2 separate regions of the Homo sapiens genome follow, and region 1 is linked to region 2. The links are contacts of gene promoters, found by promoter capture Hi-C in human tissues and cell types (Jung and others, 2019). All regions are on one chromosome and are shown on one strand. Each heading gives the region's core, a stretch centred on a gene start or on the middle of the fragment in contact. The rest is flanking DNA. Distances are from core to core; before and after follow the strand shown.

Region 1 (2,827 bases), core at 146-2,645, 530 kb after region 2:
GTTGACTCCATGAATTCATACCCTTTAGAAATTCTGTCTGGCATCATATAATGAAATGAAGCATAGCAATTATGATGGCTTCACTACAGTGTACTGATTTCCTTCCTTATCCTTATATTCTTGTATTTCTATTTTTCTCCAATTCTCATCCAGTGTTTTTACAAAGAGACTCCATGAGGTTAAGTAATGAGCCCAAAGTTACACAGTTCATAAATATCGAAGCCAGGAGTGAAAAATCTGCTTTGTATTTTTCCATAGCCCTGGCCTTTACTAGGATATAGTCCTCACTATACAAATCTAGTAATCAGTGTTCTATTTTCTAACTACTTCCCTTGTACTTAAAATATAACTGAAACATACTCTTGAAAAAAATATGCTTATGGATTTAGGGACAATTAAATCAAAGATAACTTATATAATCCATATTTTAGTACAGTAACTAGATCTAGTGTAGCTAGTCCATAGGAGAAGATCAGATGTTTCAATTTTTCAATAACAAAAATACACATTCAGTAACACCTACAAATAATATTTCTGTGGATCAGCCGACCAGTCACACTACTGATTCACCAGCAAATTTAGGCTTTGCAATAATGGAGTAGGTGCTAAACTTTGCCAAGTGTAAAGATTGCTGTGTGAATAATAGGCAATTCTGAGGTTTCATTTTCTAGAACTTTATAAGGATCGATAACTTACATAATTGTCTCTGATCAAGAACAAAAATACAATATAGGATCTTGTGTGGCTGACTAGTTATAGGTGAGCAGCATGTGGTTTATGTGAACTTCAGCAAGATTTTTATACCTAAGGAGGAAAACTGGAACCTGGTTAGCCACCTGGGTTATTTTTGAAAGTATAATTGTATTTTTTCTCATTTGGAAAAATCAGTTTGCAACGAGATCCACTCATATCATGAGTCTAAATGGTAATCTTCTAAAGTTTTTATTGGTGATTTGTTCTTAATTCTAACATTTCCTGAATGCTATTTAAAATTTACATGTAATAATAATGAGTTGCTTTTCAAATGTGATGCTCCAGTTTAATCATGTTTCACATTTAATATGATACTCTAACAAATTGTAAAGGAAATGGATAGTTAATTTTGTCCTGATGTTAGGCATGGGGAACTGATGTCTGAAGTTTTCACCTGACCTCATAGGTAAGTTGAGAACCAACCCGGACTCAAATTTTCTTCATCTCCATATCAGAATATCCTCTTTCTTGCATGGTGACCTTGATCAGAGTTTGGACTAGACTATAATCCTTTAGAAATATGAATGCTTACTGGAAAACGGTGAACAATAGCTAATTGGCAAGCATTCACTTTTCATCTGCTTCTTCAAAAGTCATCCACTGAGGTCCATGCAGAAATGAGACAGAGTTGAACACACAAGGGAGGTTGTTTTATATGTGCATATTTAATTCTGATTGGGTTCCTGACCAATGAAATTAATAATTTAAAATAACTCATGTCATTGTTTCCTTGAAATATTTCCCTAGCACCAATTTATATCAACAAACTTTATCAGAGACTGTATTAATTTTTAATTATTTTGACTGGGCTGGTAAGGTTAATTTGACTCCATGGCAATGGTAAGTCTGTCCCTTGGCATGATTTGAAAACCAAGCCTCCTCCTTCCCCTGAAGGCTTCTCACTAAATCCTAACAGTACTCTTTCTGATCATGGCTGAGGAGTCCTGTCCCTTGCTACTATCATTGTCTTGGCCATAGCCCATATTTCAACTGACTTGTGCCTCCTCAAGAAAGCAAAGCCCCTGGGATAGGAAGTAACTGACTAGTCTTTGGAACAGAAAATTGGCTTAAAATATAGTAAGGCTTTTTATAGAGTGAAATACTTGATTGACTTTAATAATAATTAGAAGATAGAATTGACATAGAAGTGAGCTGAGAGCACATACAGCATCTGGTCTTGAAATATTTTCCTGGGAGCAAAATTCTCCAGGACTCTAGTTCTGATTAAGGTTATGAATTGCTAATCCCTCCAGGACAAACTCTAGGTAACCAGAGTTATCCACCATTAACATCTTTTTGTTTGTACTCAGTTTATTGGTCTTAAAATGAATCAGAAGCCAGGAGATTACTGTAGCCAAGAACTTTGGGTGACCCCCTCCCCGCTACAATCACCGTAATTACTTTATCTCAAAAAGAACTTTATCTTTGCCACTCTAATGAGATACTCTGCCATGGAATAGCATTAAAGCTAAAAGGTTTCTGATGAGAAATGGTGCAATAAATAGAGTAAGATGTAAAGTGCCTGGCATGATGGATTTTGTTTAAAATTAGTTTATAGATTAGGCACAATTTATGTGAGGAAATTTATTAAGAAATACAGTCTAAATGTAAAATCATTCCTAAGCTTAATATTTGTTACAGATTAATTGTTGGCCAGGAGTCTTCTTACCTCTCTTGTTATCAAAATTACTCTCACATTTATGTAAGAAATTCAAGTCTTAGAATAGACCTAAGCTTACTTTCTAGTTTTCACATGGGGTGTTTTTGCCTAAGTGTGTGATATCCCCTCTTTGCTTATTGTAGATTTGGTTATCAGGCGTTTCAGTGCTTTGAAAGCACAGTGGAGGAGGCATTACGCATTATTTTATGTTATTGACAGTATTTGTAGGGCATGTTTTGGATGTCCCGACAGTGAGAGTGGAACCGGCCACCATGCATTCTGTTTTGCATCGCGTTACAGTGTTAAATCTACAGCGAAGCTGGTTTCTGTGTGGATTCATAAGCTCCAGGGTGGAAAGTGTGCAGAACACAATGCATGTCTGGCATCTACCAAAGCCAGGGTGGCCCCCGTGTT
Region 2 (2,749 bases), core at 135-2,634:
GAAATAATGTGACACTGGAAAACAACACTATTCATTTAACATAATGAATTGCCATGTAATAACTCAGATCTTCCCAGGGTGTAAATTACACAAATTTGAAAGATGCATTTATTATTTAATGCCTCATTCCCAGACAGTTGCTTACTCAGTAGCAAAATCTGTCTTAGCATACCAAGTGTAAAGCTATTTAACAAATAGGAAGGTTTAAAAAATATATACTATCATGCAGACAGCTAAAATATTTGTATATATTTTTAATCTTTTTTCTCTAATGATACTTAGAATATTTTATTTTTATTACTACAAATAATAGAGATGAAATATGAATTGTATTAGTAGCAGAGATATATGAGCTAAAGCTTGTATTGTTTAAAGCACATCATCTTAAAAGGCCTGTCAGGAAACAGTGTTCATATTAAGTTGGCTTTCAGTACTCTAAGAAGATGACATCATTTTGTAAGAGACAAGTGTTGTTAGAGCAAATGCTAGGATATTCTAAAATTTCCTAGGTTGAAGTGAAGAAATTTCTCATTATAGATTATTTCATGAGTTTATGTTCCCGGTTGTATATCAGCTCATGTTAAATTTTGCAAGAGTTTATGATTTCTAAGAACTCACCTTCTATAAGGCCCTTTGCTGAGTGGGGCTAGTTAGGAATTAGTAAGTAAAGGGGATCTTTTTTCCTCGTGTAAATAGCTTAAGAGTAATTTTGGGCGGTCCAGAAACCATAAGTTATCAGGAAGGTGCTTATAAATGGGCAGAGTACATCACTTGCCCAAGATTCTAACAACCTAGCCTGCCCCCCACACACTGTGGGGCACCGTTTGCTACTTGCCAAGTAACTGCCTTTTTTGGCAAAGACCACCCAGGACATGGCTCAGAGTCCATCCTAAGGCTGGCCAACCTCTGTAAATCTCGTGTCCCCTGATTCAGAGCGAGTGCATTTAATTCAGGAAGATCACTTACGACTGAGTTTTTCATCATGGCTTTGACTGTGAAACCCTCAGAAACCAGAGAGTGAGGCTGGTGCACCGGGAGCGGCTGTTGTGCCAGCAGCTTGGTCCTCTTCGGCATCTTGTCTGGGCATTTGTTTAAGCTCAGGGTCTCTTTTTCTGCCACCATCTTCCTAGAAAATGTCTTGTTCTCATAAAAAGTGTAGTAAAAGAATCAGTGGGCTTTACGGATGTGAGCAGGAGGTCTGGAAAAAAATATCAAAAGGCGCGATAATGGTAGAAATTCAACCCCTCGTAGTGCCCAGGTTGATCCAGATGTTTGGCAGCTCCTAGGTGAAGGGAGCTGGACCCTAGGGGCGGGGCGGGAAGAGGGCAGGACCTTGGCTAGAGCTGCAACAAGCTTCCAAAGGTAAGCCTCCCGGTTGCTAAGCGACTGGTCAACACGGCGGGCGCATAGCCCCGCCCCCCGGTGACGTAAGATTGCTGGGCCTGAAGCCGGAAAGGGCGGCGGTGGGGGGCTGGGGGCAGGAGGCGTGAGGAGAAACTACGCGTTAGAACTACGACTCCCAGCAGGCCCTGGGCCGCGCCCTCCGCGCGTGCGCATTCCTAGGGCCGGGCGCGGGGGCGGGGAGGCCTGGAGGATTTAACCCAGGAGAGCCGCTGGTGGGAGGCGCGGCTGGCGCCGCTGCGCGCATGGGCCTGTTCCTGGCCCGCAGCCGCCACCTACCCAGTGACCATGATAGGTACGTGGGTACCTGCCAGGTACAGCCTCTCTGCGCCGCCCCACGCCCCGGTATGGCGCCACGCCCCGCCTCGGCCGACCAGGACCCCCGGTGCCAACTGTCAATGACGGGGCCAAAGTGCCCGTGCCGTCCCCGGCCCGCGCCGCCGGGCTCCCCAGCTCAGCGACGCGGGTCCGGGGCCCCAGTGTGTGCGTTCGAAGCCCTCGCCTGCCCGCCCCTGCTCTGAGCGTTCTCATGAAGACCGCCTCGACGGGGACGCCAGGCGGCCCCGCACCCCCGCTCCTCGTTCGCGGTCCCCCGGACCGTGTGGGGTCCCGAAGCCTTCTCCCCGCCGCCGCCCCTCACCTTCGCCCCGCCGCCGCCCCTCACCTTCGCCCCTCACCTCACTGGCCGGTTGTGGTGCGGTTCAGGACCCATCGAGACCCACTCTCTGTGGGGCTCTTTCAGGAAACCGCAGCAAAGCATTAAACTCTAATGGAAGGCACCTGGTGAGGGTGGCTGGCTCCACAGAAACTCCTCCAGATAGATCTAAACTTGCTCCCTCGGATGTTTCCTTTTAAACTTCTCATTGGAGGGCTGAGATGAAAGAAACATTAAGAGTAAATAGTAGCCAAGATTAAATCTATTGCCTTTTGCAAAATAACCTTTCTTTTTTTTTTTTGTAAAAGAACGACCGAGGTGCAAGTTTGTGAACGAAACTTAGTGGCATCAGAGTTGTTCATGAACACTTGATGTGTAAGATGAGCAAAGGTCCTCTCTTCCAGGGTTGTTGAGCCAAAAGTTACTTTAGGGGCTATCCCTGAAAATTAATGGAAATGCACCATATGTTTGAAAAACAGTGCTAGATGGGGTTTCATTATTGTGGAGGTTTCTCCAGGTTATGTATGGAGGGTTTAGTGAGCTTGTTTATTCCTGAGGAGGGTCCTTTACAAAACACTTTTGATTGCAGTAAGTACGTTCGAAGTCAGATGTGGTCTGTCCAGAAGAAAGATGAGAGGTGGATTTATAAAGTATATGATCTTTATGCACTGAAAACACTTCTTACATCTGTTT

Evidence for each region. The method cuts DNA at HindIII sites, captures the fragments that hold promoters and counts their contacts. A contact is called where the count stands out against the background at its distance.
Region 1: a contact is called between a fragment that was not itself captured here and the fragment with the promoter of PACRG in region 2, in 1 of the 25 tissues and cell types used here (heart left ventricle).

Annotation. Positions count from the first base shown.
Region 1 is chr6:162,195,004-162,197,830 of GRCh38, reverse strand. The region is part of intron 4 of PRKN (parkin RBR E3 ubiquitin protein ligase); the gene reads left to right. Among named protein-coding and RNA genes, the nearest start is that of LNCR-SMAL, 38 kb to the left of the region's middle. The HindIII fragment of the contact is 3,906 bases long and covers 1-2,827 here.
Region 2 is chr6:162,726,609-162,729,357 of GRCh38, reverse strand. It overlaps PACRG (parkin coregulated), which reads right to left and starts at 1,384. Exons shown (of 5, transcript NM_001080379.2): 1 at 967-1,384. The coding sequence starts at 1,122. PRKN (parkin RBR E3 ubiquitin protein ligase) reads left to right here and starts at 1,592. Exons shown (of 12, transcript NM_004562.3): 1 at 1,592-1,696. The coding sequence starts at 1,690. RefSeq lists silencers at 1,764-1,985, 1,475-2,014. The HindIII fragment of the contact is 3,880 bases long and covers 857-2,749 here.